Linked DNA regions of Homo sapiens: regions 1 and 2 are each linked to region 3. The links are contacts of gene promoters, found by promoter capture Hi-C in human tissues and cell types (Jung and others, 2019). All regions are on one chromosome and are shown on one strand. Each heading gives the region's core, a stretch centred on a gene start or on the middle of the fragment in contact. The rest is flanking DNA. Distances are from core to core; before and after follow the strand shown. Region 1 has its middle 33 kb from the start of YWHAH. Region 2 holds the start of LOC105372998 (a long non-coding RNA gene). Region 3 holds the start of PRR14L (proline rich 14 like).

Evidence for each region. The method cuts DNA at HindIII sites, captures the fragments that hold promoters and counts their contacts. A contact is called where the count stands out against the background at its distance.
Region 1: a fragment that was not itself captured here is called in contact with the fragment with the promoter of PRR14L in region 3 in 1 of the 25 tissues and cell types used here (aorta).
Region 2: a fragment that was not itself captured here is called in contact with the fragment with the promoter of PRR14L in region 3 in 4 of the 25 tissues and cell types used here (dorsolateral prefrontal cortex, heart right ventricle, mesenchymal stem cells and 1 more).

The regions. Positions count from the first base shown.
Region 1 is chr22:31,909,201-31,913,913 of GRCh38, reverse strand. No RefSeq gene overlaps it. Among named protein-coding and RNA genes, the nearest start is that of YWHAH, 33 kb to the left of the region's middle. RefSeq lists an enhancer at 1,246-1,745. The HindIII fragment of the contact is 4,251 bases long and covers 1,102-4,713 here.
Region 2 is chr22:31,926,713-31,931,005 of GRCh38, reverse strand. It overlaps LOC105372998 (a long non-coding RNA gene), which reads left to right and starts at 913. Exons shown (of 3, transcript XR_001755494.2): 1 at 913-2,843; 2 at 3,696-3,907. LOC124905102 (a long non-coding RNA gene) reads right to left here and starts at 3,732. Exons shown (of 2, transcript XR_007068064.1): 1 at 3,644-3,732; 2 at 3,422-3,556. RefSeq lists a silencer at 3,696-3,896. The HindIII fragment of the contact is 3,903 bases long and covers 270-4,172 here.
Region 3 is chr22:31,748,847-31,753,820 of GRCh38, reverse strand. PRR14L (proline rich 14 like) reads left to right here and starts at 3,689. Exons shown (of 9, transcript NM_173566.3): 1 at 3,689-3,828. RefSeq lists a silencer at 1-37 and enhancers at 3,464-3,758, 3,248-3,807, 4,047-4,679. The HindIII fragment of the contact is 11,409 bases long and covers 1-4,974 here.

The DNA of each region.
Region 1 (4,713 bases), core at 1,978-4,477, 160 kb before region 3:
CAGGAGTTCAAGAACAGCCTGGCTAACATGGCAAAATTCTGTCTCCACAAAAAAAAAAAAACCAAAAATTAGCCAGGCATGGTGGCTCCAGGTACTCAGGAGGCTGAGGCACAAGAATCGCTTGAACCCGGGAGGTGCAGGTTGCAGTCAGCCAAGGTTGTGCCACTGTGCTCCAGCCTGGGTGACAGAGTGAGACCCTGTCTCAAAAAAAAAAAAAAAAAAAAAAAGCATAGAGCAGAGAGACAGCCAGGCATGGTGGCTCAGGCCTGTAATCCCAGTGCTTTGGGACGCTGAGGCAGGAGGATCTCTTTTTTTTTTTTTTTGAGACGGAGTCTTGCTCTGTTGCCCAGGCTGGAGTGCAGTGGTGTGATCTTGACTCACTGCAAGCTCTGCCTCCTGGGTTCACGCCATTCTCCTGCCTCTGCCTCCAGAGTAGCTGGGACTACAGGTGCCCACGAGCATGCCTGGCTAATTTTTTTTGTATTTTTAGTAGAGACGGCTTTTCATCGTGTTAGCCAGGATGGTCTCGATCGGCAGGAGGATCTCTTGAGGCCAGAATTTTGAGACTACTTGGGCAACATAGCAAGAATCCCGTCTCTATAATATTTTTTTTTTAGACGGAGTTTCGCTCTTTTCGCCCAGGCTGGAGTGCAATGGCATGATCTCGGCTCACTGCAACCTCCGCCTCCCTGGTTCAAGTGATTCTCCTGTCGCAGCCTCCCAAATAGCTGGGATTACAGGTGCCTGCCACCATGCCAGGCTAATTTTTGTATTTTTAGTAGAGACGGGGTTTCACCATGTTGGCCAGGATGGTCTCGATCTCTTGACCTCATGATCCACTCACCTCGGCCTCCCAAAGTGCTGGGATTACAGGCGTGAGCCACTGCGCCAGGCCTTTTTTTTTTTTTTTTTTTTTTTTTTTTAATTAGCTGGGCGTGGTGGTGCACGCCTGTAGTCCCAGCTACTCAGGGGGGCTGAGCTGAGAGGATTGCTTGAGACTGAGTTCAGGGTGGCAGTGAGCTGTGATAGTGCCACTGCACTCCAGCCTGAACAACAGAGGGAGACCCTGTATCTCTGAGAGAAAAAAAAAAAAGAGCACAGAGAAGAGGCAAGAAATTGCGTTCCAGTGGCAACTGTGGGACTGAAACAGACTGGAATTCCCCCCTCAGCACTCATCCATCCTGTTGGTTGAGAAAGGAAAAAGTCTATATATAATCTTATGGTCCCCAATGTTTCTCCCAGATGAGTTCAGATGAAAATTCTGGGGCTCAGGGAGAAAAGACTTTTCCAGAGATTGCATAGCAATTCCCCATCTCCCCTCATCCCCATGGGAAAAGAGATTTTCTTGTTGGAAGGACTATGTGCTGATTCACTGAGGAAACAGGAATCTTGCTGCAGCCAGAGAAGCAGATGGAGGTCAAATCTGAAGGCTGGTAGGACTCAGTACTCGGCACCAGCTTTTGCTACATGCAAATGCTACATCCCAGGCATTTCAGGCCAGGTTTAGGGCAAGTGTGTGGCACAGTCTGAAGGCCAGGAGCTGCCTGAAGCACTTGCAGGCTGAAGCCACAGCTGCAGACCAGAAGAGAGGGCACACACAGTGCCTTCCAGATAGAAGCCTGGCAGGGAGGAAAGGCCACTGGTCCTGCCTCAAAGTCACTGAGTCACTGCCCATTCCCTACCAGAGAACCTGTATATGAGGCCATGTCTACATGTTACACTGCATCTGTACCCATGCAGAGATTCACCATACACGTAAGGCAGTCAGTTGAAAGGAACGAAGGGGTCCCCAGGCAGGAACCCAGGATGGAGCAGTGGGTGGCATCTCATTGATACAGCACCACAAAAAGGTGAAGAGGGCAGCACAGTTGGTGGTGACTGGGCTGATTCCCATGAACCTGATTCCCAGTCCAGCTGTTTGTTAGCGTATGGGCGTGGACCCTACTTCCTGGGGCCTTCCACCCCTCAGCTGGTATGTTGATAAGATTATACAATGAGTCAGGTGCAGTGTCCCATGCCTGCAATCCCAGCACTTTGAGAGGCCGAGGTGGGTGGATCATTTGAGGTCAGAAGTCCGAGATCAGACTGACCAATATGGTGAAACCCTGTCTCTACTAAAATTACAAAAATTAGCTGGATGTGGTGGCATGCCCTTGTAGTCCCAGCTACTGGGGAGGCTGAGGCAGGAGAATTGCTTGAACTTGGGAGGCAGAGGTTGCAGTGAACCAAGATTCTGCCACTGCATTCCAGCCTGGGCAACAGAGCAAGATCTCGTCTCAACAACAACAACAAAGATCATGCAATGAAAAGGTGTATGACACATTGCCCAGGACACAGGAAGCACTCAATGGAGTGACCATTGTTATTCTGTGTTTTTCTGAACTTTTCTGGGTAACTGAAGAGGCCTGTAAAATGGCTTCTATTCAGCATTCCCTCCCAGTATTCGCTATCTGCTTCAGCAAGGCCTCACAGATTTGCGCAGTGTCTCTGGCATACATCATGTATCCCTTCCTTTTTTTTTTTTGAGACAGGGTCTCCCTGTCGCCCAGGCTGGAGTGCAGTGATGCGATCTCGGCTCACTGCAACCTCTGCCTCCCAGGTTCAAGTGATTCTCCCGCCTCAGCCTCCTGAGTAGCTCAGATTACAGGCGCCCGCCACCATGCCTGGCTAGTTTTTGAATTTTTTTTTTTTTTTTGAGACAGAGTCTTGTTCCATCGCCCAGGCTGGAGTGCAGTGGTGTGATCTCAGCTCACTGCAACCTCTGCCTCCCGAGTTCAAGCAATTCTCCTGCCTCAGCCGCCCGAGTAGCTGGGACTACAGGCACGCACCACCACGCCCAGCTAATTTTTGTATTTTTAGTAGAGATGGGGTTTCACCATGTCGGCCAGGATGGTCTCGATCTCTTGACCTCTTGATCCACCCGCCCTGGCCTCCCAAAGTGTTGGAATTACAGGTGTGAGCCACTGCGCCCAGCCCTAACTTTTGTATTTTTAGTAGAGACAGGGTTTTACCATGTTGGCTAGGCTGGTCTCGAACTCCTGACCTCAGGTGATCCACCCACCTTGGCCTCCCAAAGTGCTGGAATTACAGGCGTAAGCCACCGTGGCCGGCCCTAACTTTTGTATTTTTAGTAGAGATGGGGTTTCACCATGTTCGCCAGGCTGGTCTCAAACTCCTGACTTCAGATGATCTTGGCCTTCCAAAGTGCTGGGATTACAGTCGTGAGCCACCGCACCTGGCCTGTATAATCTGGTGATAGGCTTCTGATCGGCATGCACATGTCCTCCATGTCTGACCAAACCCACAGATTCCCTGTGGGCTGAGCTTTGTACCTACAAAAAGGTGGATGAGTCTAAGAGACAGGATGAATGGATGGGAGGACTGGAGGATGATGGAGGAGGAAGGCACTGGGTTTGACTACCAGATTCTGGCTTGGACAAGTGGGTGGAAGGAGATGCCCACCAGAGAGAGGAGGAATCAGGAAAGTAGGCAGCAAGGAGACTGGGGCTCATGGGCAGGAAAGTTTGAGGTCCCGCTCTGATGGGGGAGTGACCCAGCATCCTAACGCACCAGCCGCCCCTTCTTCCACCAAATCATTCTGTGGGCCTTCTGCTGGGCAATTGCAGGGGCAGTTTTGGCCTCACACACAGGACACTGAGGATCACAAGTGATTGTTCAGTTCGTATGTGATCTGAACAGGCCAGCGTTTGCTGTGTCCAGCACCATCACTCAATGGCTTGAGAGCACAATGGAGACTCCCATCCAGGAATGTGAGAGCAGCTGTTCAGCTGTTTGAGAGCAGACATTTGCTTACTGTCTTTTTGTAAGACCTTTCATATACGTGGCCTTTTTTTTTTGAGATAAGGTCTTGCTCTGTCACCCAGGCTGGAGTGCAGTGGTGCAATCACAGCTCATTGCAGACCTCCTGAGTTCAAGCGACCTTCCCACCTCAGCCTCTCACGTAGCTGGGATGACAGGTGTGAGCCACCATGTCCAGCTAACTTTTGTTTTTTCTTAGACGGAGTCTTGCTCTGTCGCCCAGGCTGGAGTGCAGTAGCACAATCTCGGTTCACTGCAACCTCCATCTCCCGGGTTCAAATGGTTCTCCTGCCTCAGCCTCCCAAGTAGCTGGGATTATAGGTGCACACCACCACGCCTGGCTAATTTTTGTATTTTTCATAGAGATGGGGTTTCATCATGTTGGCCAGGATAGTATCAAATTCCTGACCTCACATGATCCGACCACCTCGGCCTCACAAAGTGTTAGGATTACAGGCATGAGTCACTGCACCCGGCCCCAAGCTAATTTTTTATTTATTTTATTTTATTTATTCATTTTTTTTGTAGCGACGGGGTCTTCCTATGTTGCTCAGGCTGATCTCAAATTCCTGGGCTCAAGTGATCCTCCCATCTCAGTCTCCCAAAGTGTTGGGATTACAGGTGTGGGCCGACCGTGCCCAGCTACATGTGTCTTCTGATTCTCCAACCACCCAAGGAGATAGCTTCCCATTTCATAGATGAGGGGATTTACATATCTTAGAAAAGGGAAGGTGAAAAAGGAAAAGAAAACAGGTTTTTATCAAAGGCCTGCTCCATTTCCAGGAATTATCCAGGGCTCTTTCACATATATTAACAAACCTATTCTCTCAAAATCATTACATGCAGCATCCATAGCCACGTTTTAAGTTCTAAATAAGTTCAAGTTCTGTGAAG
Region 2 (4,293 bases), core at 972-3,471, 180 kb before region 3:
CAGCACTGGCAGCTGATTAGATGGTGCCCACCCAGGTTAAAGGTGGGTCTGCCTTTCCCAGCCCACTGAGTCAAATGTTAATATCCTTTAGCAACACTCTCACAGACACACCCAGGATCAATACTTTGTATTCTTCAGTCCAATCAAGTTGACACTCAGTATCAACCATCACACCATTGTTCAAGGCTCAGGTCTCTGGATGCCATCCTAACCCAGGGTCTTTGCAGGTGCTTTTCCTCTGCCCGGAACACTCTTCCCAGAGATCTCGACATGGATGATGTCGCAGATTAAAGATGGCCACATAGGCCAGGCATGGTGGCTGACACCTGTAATCCCAGCACTTTGGGAGGCCAAGGCAGGAAGACAGCCCCAGGCATAAGTTCAAGACCAGTCTGGGCATCATAGTGAGACCCCCATTGCTACAAAAAATAAGAAAAAAATAGCCAGGCAGGGTGGCACACTCCTGTAGTCCCAGCTACTCAGGAGGCTCAGGTGGGAGGATCGCTTGAGATGAGGAGTTTGAGGATGCAGTGAACTATGATTGTGTTGCTATAGTCCTGCCTGGGCAACAGGGCAAGATAGCGTCTTGCTGGTGTTGTGGTGCATGCCTACTCAGGAGGCCAAGGCAGGAGGATTGTTTGAGCCTGGGAGCTTGAGGATGCAGTGAGCTATGATCGTGCCAGTGTACTCCAGCGTGGGCAATGGAGTGAGACCCTGTCTCAAAAAATTAAAAAAAAAAGATTTCATACTAATCACAACTTTGGTACACCTCGAAATCATTTTTGTTACTCTCTGCAATATGGATCATGTCTCTTTTTATATAAAATATAATATGTATACATTTATAAATTTATAAAATACAAAGATGGAGTTTCACCATGTTGGCCAGGCTGGTCTTGAACTCCTGGCCTCAAATGATCTGCCCACCCTGGCCTCCCAAAGTTCTGGGATTACAGGTGTGAGCCTCCACGCCCGGCTGATCATGTCTCATAAATAAGGCCACAAATACTTTGCTGCTCCCCTCACATCAAGAAGTGGCATCCCTTTCCTTGCCCTTTGGATCTGGGCTGGGCTTGTGACTTGCTCTGACAACAGAATGTGGCAGAAGTGACCCTTTATGAGTTCAGGAGCTTAGGCCGCAAGAGATCTTGCAAGCTTGTGCCTTCCCCCTCTTGGAATGCTGCTCCTAGACCACCACATAAGGCAGCTGGTCTACCAGCGGGAGGATGGGAGGCCACGTGATAGGGATCTGAGACACCCCAGCCAACAGCCAGCACCAACCACCAGATGTGTGTGAGAGGCCTTCTTGGACCTTCCAGCTCAGCTGTGACTCCAGCTGAATGCAGCTGCATGTGTGACCAGGAGAAACGGGCAGAGGAACCACTCAGGCCAGCCAGACTCATAAAAAATAACAAATGGTTGTTGTAAGCCACTAGGTTTGGGGGTTTGTTAGGTGGCTATAGATAACCAAGACAACTGCCTCCTCCTCATTCAGGTGCCTGCTCCCTTCCCCTTCAGTCCCTTCCCTCCCCCCTCAAACCCCCACCAATTGCTGTTTATGCCGTTATCCTGTTTCATCCTGTCCAAGGCATTTATCACTGTCTGAAACCATGATGTATTCACTTATGGACCTGCAGTGCATTTCCGCCACGAGGCTGCAGTTTCCATGAGGGCAGGGGCCAGAATGGTTTGTTCCCTACCATCTCCCTTGAGCCTGTGTGTGTGGTGTCTGGCACAGAGAAGCTGTGTAATTGTTGATGGAGAGATTGTGTGCCTGCCCCTTGCTGCTGTGGTGCTTGGGGGAGCAGCGTGGCAGGTGGGAACTCCTGCCTGGTTGTGTCTTCCAAAACCGGTGCCCTTGGGAGGGCAGGAGGGCAGGCCAGGTGTCTGGGCTGTGTTTCAGGGGCAAGAGCTTCAGGGAGCCCAAGTTGAGTAGGAAGAAAAGGAAACTGCCAAAATGTTCATTTTCAGCAGGGGCTTAGATTCAGGCCAAGGAAGTTACTGGGGCTTCTCTCCACCAGGTCAGCTGCAAATTACCAGCAGCCCAGCCACGCCCTTCTGTAAGATCACCAAGCTGAGAAACTGGGCAATGGGAGAGAGTGTTGGGGACACTGAGTCACTTCCCAGGGGCCAACTATTTCCAAGTCCCTCAGAGTCCTCAGAGTCTGCTTTTTCCAGTGCCAAGGAATTGGTCCAGTAGCCACAGCTTCAGTTGAGGAAAAAATGCATACCCAAGAGAAAAAGAATCAGCTCCAGGGTGCCTTTTTCTTTTCTTTTCTTTTTTTTTTTTTTTTTGAGACGGAGTCTCATTCTGTCACCCAAGCTTGAGTGCAGTGGCGTGATCTCAGCTTACTGCAACCTCCGCCTCCCGGGTTCAAGGGATTCTCCTGCCTCAGCCTCCTGAGTAACTGGGATTACAGGCATGCACCACCACTCCTGGCTAATTTTTGTATTTTTAGTAGAGACAGGATTTCACCATGTTGGTCAGGCTGGTCTCGAACTCCTGACCTTGTGATCCACCCATCTCAGCCTACCAAACTGCTGGGATTACAGGAGTGATTCCAGGTGCCTCTTTTAGCTATCATTCTGCATTCTGTGGGAACAGAGAGAGCATCACCGTAGTTCAAGCCAGGCTCCTTTAGGTTAGGTGGACTTGTGTTGGTATTATGTCTCCATGACTGTGTGACCTTGGGGATGCGGCTTGACCTTCCTGAGCACCAGTTTCTGCATCTATTAGGAGTGGACAGTGAAGACCGAACTCCTAAGGTTGTGATGAGAATTCAATGAGAACATGCATGCCCAGCACAGCTTCAAGCACACAGAAACAGTAAAACCGATTGCAGGTAAGCTTGTGAGTACTTCTTCACCTGTTGGCAAATGGGGGTTGAGGGGAAGAGCAAGGTTTGCAGTTAAAAACAGACCCTTCCTGGAGACCAGGGTCACATTGAGGGGTTGCCTGGCTGAGACTAGGGCTATGGTATGAACCCTTGGTCCACAACGGACTGCCTGATTCTAACTGGCTTCTGTAACAGAGGAGACCACTCAGAGAAGCCCTCAGAGGGCCTCCAACCCTCCTGGAACCCCCCTGGTATAGATAGGTCAGTGGTTTGGAAGGTAGACCTCTGACAAGGATTCAGAAGGCCTGGGTTAAAGGCCCGGCTCTGGCACTAATGTGCTGTGTGTCATGGAACAAATAATTTGCCTTCTCTGGGCTCTAGTGTCCTCATCTATAAAATGGGTCATTAATCTCTGACTTACCGAACTCATAGGGTTGTTGAGATGATGAGATAATTTAGATGAAAGACTGCTTTGAAATGCATTTGCTGTTTGGTGAATAAAAAGGGGATAGATATTAAAACTGAGAGGACCCCTGGATTCTCTAGCAAAGCCCCTCTAAAGCCTTTAAACCAGGCAATATAAATACGAGTTCAAACCCTGGCCTTTATTAGTAACTTGCACGACTTTGGGCGAATGAGTTAAACTCTGGCACTGCTAGTGGTGTGATTTTTCTTCTGAGGGAGACAGGACCCATGGAGCAAGAAAAGGCTGGAAGAAGCTGCAAGATACAGGGTAGACAAGATGAGGAGGAGAAGCCCGCCAGCCTCCAAAACCCCTGGGCAACTGGTGGCGGGGAGGTTCCCACCTGACTGTGAGCTTAGGTGGGGGCTACCTGTTCCCCTTTCCATCCCCCACAGGCAGTTCTCTGGATCTCAGCCCACCCCAGGTAGATGGTGACTCAAGTTGTTCTGCAGAGACTGGTCCCCCTGCCTCTGTTGCCATGGCACTGCAGCACAGCCTGGCCAATCAGGAAGGAGATGAGTATCTGAGTCTCTGTTGCTAAAGCTGGAGCAGGACACCTAGCCAATGGGAAGGGCAGCAGAGTGGAGCCACCATGGAAACCTAAGCAGTGAGGTTCAAACCATGTTTTTTGTCTCTATGTCTCATTTTCAGGGGGTGGGCTGGGTTTTCTGCATTCCTTTTTTTTTTTTTTTTTTTGCAAAGAGCATCTTGCAACCCCAGGAGGATATTCAGGAGTCACGACTGGGTGCATGACAAGAGGCATCTTTAAAGAGTCAGAAAGGACTCCAACTCAGCAGGGCACAGCTTCAGATGAATTATTCCCCCAGATGCTCAGCATCACCTGTGTCTATGATCTTAGCTCATCGCCACAGCTCTACCTAGCCCCACTGTCCTAGGAAATAACTGCAGGCTGCAGAAGAATCCCCACCCCCAAAGTAAGAAAAGGAATGTGGGGTCACCTCCTTATGCCCAATAGCTTTGTGGCTTTGGACA
Region 3 (4,974 bases), core at 2,440-4,939:
CCTGGCGTTTCCTGCCCTCGAGCACTAGAGCCTCCCGCCCCACGGAGGAAATCCATTTCCTCCTAGTCTATCCGAAGTAGATCCATGGCCACAGAGCTTCGTTTCCGACTCAGTGATCTCCCCACAGGGGAAACGAGATCCGTCAGAGCTCCGTTTTCTGTTATATGAACGAGGTTAATGACTCATGTGGCCTCATTGGGCAGCTAAGAGGCGCCAACGAGAGTTTCTGGGAGGACTTCTGTAAAATGCAAGGGGCTGAGCACGCGAGAGTTAGGGTGATGGCCTCTGCTGGGAAGTGTCCACTTACGGGGGGCTTTTCAAACCCTTGCAAACTCTAAACGACGTTCTGCGCCCCTCAGGTTATTAATAAGAATGGCTGCCGTGGCTTCATAGTCCTTATGTAATCATTGCATCCCTATTACCTGATGGATGCAGGAGGCAGATACTATCCTATTTCACAAACCAGGAAACAGCCTGAGGACACAAAACCCTTCAGAAGGAAGCAAGGACGAATCCTGACCCGTTCCCAGAACGGGGCCTTTAACCAACATCCTTTGGTCATACCCAGGGCACTGCCTAAACTCGCGTCTGTCAGGATATCTTTCTCTCCAAGCAGAAAACCAGAGAGCTGGGTGGGCTGGGTCAGGCTCTGGCCAAGGACTCCTGACAATTGCCAGCTCCGCCTGCTGCCACTGATACCCCCGCCCCCTAGTCCAGTCCACCGTTTCTGACCTGAGCGGCAGCAACTCGATAGGGACTCCCTGCTTCCCCTCTTGAAGCCAGAGAGACCTTATAACTAGAATCGGTGTCTTGGGTCACGCCTCTCCTCTGCTGCTTCTAATCACACTGACTGCTAAATCTAAACGACACAGCACTTGTCTTAAATTTCTTTATATCTTTAATACTAACAGTGCCCATTTCTTACGGATTTGGAAAACTTAAAAATGTTGAAAGAAAAAACATGTTACACTGTAGTGAAAGATTCTGCAGTGGACCAAGGGGACCCTGGGACAGGACAAGCAACGTTCTTAAGCATGGATGCCTTTATGTTGGGACTCAGGAGAAGTTAGGTAAATAATGCAAGTGTTAAGTAATTGCAATTTTTTTGTTTGTTTGTTTTTTTGTTTTTGTTTTGAGATGAGGTCACCCTCACCCAGGCTGGAGTGCAGTGGCATGATCCCGTCTCACTGCCATCTCTGCCTGCCTGGCTCATGCGATCCTCCCACCTCAGCCTCCTAGTAGCTGGGATTACAGGTGCATGCTCAGCTAATTTTTGTATTTTTTGTAGAGACGGGGTTTTGCCATGTGGCCCAGGCTGGTCTCAAACTCCAGAGCTCAAGTAATCCGTCCGCCTTGGCCTCCCAAAGTTCTGGGATTACAGGCACCAATCACTGTAGCCGGGCCTTTTTTTTCCCCCAAGACCAGGTCTAGCTCTGTTGCCAAGGCTGCAGTGCAGTGGTTCTATCATAGCTCACTGCAACCTCAATTTTCTGGGCTCAAGTGATTCTTCTGCCTCAGCCTCCCAAGGGACTGGGACTACAGGCCAAGCCACCACTCCTGGCTGAAATTGTTTATCTTGTAATAAAACATATGTGATACAGTGGATTGCAACAGTTACAAAATTTTTTAAGAATAACAATGTTATGTTAAAAAATGTTTCTATGTTGCCACTTCAGGAGATACACCTAGATCCCCCAAGATAGTTTTTGTCTTTAGCAATGGTGGTTGATGGGACATTCTTCCATCCCTGGGGAAGCTAATAGGATTCTCTCTTCTTAGCCCTCAAGGGAATTTGATTCCTTCTCCTGAGAGATGTCCATAATGGGACATCTTAAAAAGGCAAATTTTTTTTTTTTTTTGAGACGGAGTCTCCCTCTGTCGCCCAGGCTGGAGTGCAGTGGCCCGATCTCGGCTCACTGCAACCTCTGCCTCCCGGGTTCATGCCATTCTCCCGCCTCAGCCTCCCGAGTAGCTGGGACTACAGGTGCCCGCCACCACGCCTGGCTAATTGTTTATAATTTTTAGTAGAGAGGGGGTTTCACCGTATTAGCCAGGATGGTCTTGATCTCCTGACCTCGTGATCCGCCCGCCTTGGCCTCCCAAAGTGCTGGGATTATAGGCTTCAGCCACCACGCCCGGCCAAAAGGCAAATATTTTAACTTTTTAATTTGGCAACTCTCATAAAGAAACTCTGAAGGCCAGGAGTGGTGGCTCACGCCTGTAATCCCAGCACTTTGGGAGGCCGAGGCAGGCGGATCACTCGAGGTCAGGAGTTCAAGACCAGCCTGGCCAACATGGTGAAACCCTGTCTCTACTAAAAATACAAAAATTAGCTGGGCATGGTAGCATGCGCCTGTAATCCCAGCTACTCAGGAGGCTGAGGCTGGAGAATCTCTTGAACCTGGGAGGCAGAGGTTGCAGTGAGCCGAGATCCTACCACTGCACTCCAGCCTGGTGTCAGAACGTGGCCCCGTCTCAAAAAAAAAAAAAAGAAAGAAAGAAACGAAACTTTGAAGCATTCAATTTTTTTTTTTTTTTTTTTTTTTGAGACAGTGTCTTGTTTTGTTGCCCAGGCTGGAGTGCAGTGGGGGCACCATCATAGCTCAATGCAGCTTCAAACTCCTGGGCTCAAACGATCCTCCTGCTTCAGGCTCCCCAGTAGCTAGGAGCACAGGTGCATCAACACCTGAGCAATTTTTGTTTTGTTTTGAGAAAGAGTCTTGCTGTGTCATCCAGGCTGGAGTGCAGTGGCACTATCACTGCTCACTGCAGCCTCAACCTTCCAGCCTCAAGTGATCTTCCTGCCTCAGCCTCCAGAGTAGCTGGGATTACAGGCACACATCACCAGACCCAGCTGTTTGTTTTTTGGCAGAAACGATGTCTCACTATGTTGCCCAGGCTGGTCTCAAACTTCTGGGCTGAAGTGCTTCTCCCGCTTTCGCCTCCCAAAGTGCTGGATTACAGGCGTGAGACACCGCGCCTGGTCGATTTCTATTTTTTAACACAAAGCCGTATTATTTGGGGCAAGTCGATTTCATTATCTGGACCTCAATTCTTCCACTGGATAAACATTTCTTCCTTCCTTCAAATGTCCATTGAGCGTCTAGTTTTGTGCCGGACACTGCTCTTGGTGCTGAGCATTAAGTGATGAACAAAACAGACAAGGTGGAGGAAGATAAATGATAAACAAGTCAATAAAGAGATGAGACATAGAAATTTCAGCTAGTGTTAAAGCTATGAAGAAAATAAAACAAGGTTCTGTAACCAACTGGAGGCAGAGGTGCCATTTATTTAGTGGTCAGTGTGATTAGAAGAAGCAGAGGAGTGTCATGACCCAAAACACTCTTTCCAGTAGAATAAGATCTCTCGGGCTGCCAGAGTGGAAGCAGGCAGGCCCTTAGAATTGTAGCCGTCCAGACTAGAAAAACGGTGGACTGGAACAGGGTGACAGCAGCGAAGGCCGGCACTGGGTCCTGTGGCTCAGCAGGAGCAGAACCAAAAGTTGTGTTTCCCTTTAAGAGTTTGAGCCGCAGGGGCGGGGTTGAGGGAGGCTGGGGCTAGCAGAGGGCGGGAGGTCAGAATCAGGAAGAGCCTTCCCTTGGAGTGCGCGCGCGCGGTGCGGGGGCGGGATTTGGGCGAGTCCGCATGGCTGGCTCGGGCCCCGGATGAGGAAGTGCAGGGGGACCATAGAGACGAAGAGGTGGCGGCGGCCGGAGCGCCCCCGGCCTCTGTCGGCTCCGTAGGCTCAGGTAGACCTGGCGACGACGGGGCTGCAGCTGCAGGGGCTGAGCTGGCTGGGCAAGCGCGGGCCGCGGAGGAGGTCTCAGGGTAAGAGGCCGGGACTGGAAGGCTTCGGGCGTAGCCGCCCCGCCCCACTCCGCCCTAAAGGGACCCTCCGCCGGGTGGTGCTGCTAAAGGGGAGTCCAGGCCCCCCGCCCTCTCGGGGCGCGGAAAGGAACCAAGGCTGCCCTGTGGGCGGCGGAACGACCCAGGGAGAGGGAGGAGACCAGGCCCCGCGTCGCTAGAGAAAAGCGGCTTCTCCGAGTCATGGCTCCGACGCGGGAGAGAGACTCCTCTTCAACCTCGATACAACAGGGATCCCCCAACTTATCTCCTCGGAGAGGACGACGCCCCTTATCGGAGGCGTACGCTCTTTCTTAGCGCTCATCCGTTGGTCAGCAGAGGGAGACCCACTCCCAGGGTTCGAGGGGGATTCTGAACTTATCCTGAGGAGGAGTAAAAGATAACCCCTAAATGAGACCTTTCCCCCAACTTTGGTCAGCGTCACCCAGGTGAAGAGTGAGACCCAACTTGCCTGAAAGTGACAGAGGGGATCTTTCTTCCCAGTAAGAAAGAGACTTACCTTCCTCCTTTATTTTTCGCCTGTACCCCAAGATACGGAGAGGAAGACCTTGAAATTTTACTTTATGGTATCAGAAATCAACCTTTCTCCCTCTCCCCTCGTGATGTCCACAGAGAGACCCTCGCTTCTCTTCTTCCCTTTAAGCCTCTTGGTGTGCAGTGAGCTCCTTTCCCTTGCATTATTAAGAGCATGGCTTTTGGAGTGTAATCGTTGCAAACCTGGGTCTCTCACTTAACGTCTTTGTGACCTTGACTATTTGTTTAACTTGTCTGAATCTCAGTCCATCTCCAATTTGGGTTCTGTTTTCTTAGAATTGTCATGCGGGCTAAGGGAGCATTTGTGTAAATACTAGTTATATAGTAAGCTTTTGGTAAGCTGTTGCTATTACTATTACTTAATCTGTTAAAAAAGAAAACTAATATCTTGCACAGAGAAGCATATTTTTCCATGCATGCCCCTCGCAGCCTCCATCACAAGTGTTCAACCATCCTTTCTCACTGGAGTGGAAGACTCCCTCCCACTTAGGGGTTAGAGAAAGAGACACTTCCAGTCCCCTTAGATCCTGCTGTTCAATACTTTCCCAAATTAACAAAGAGGGCCTCACTGAAAAT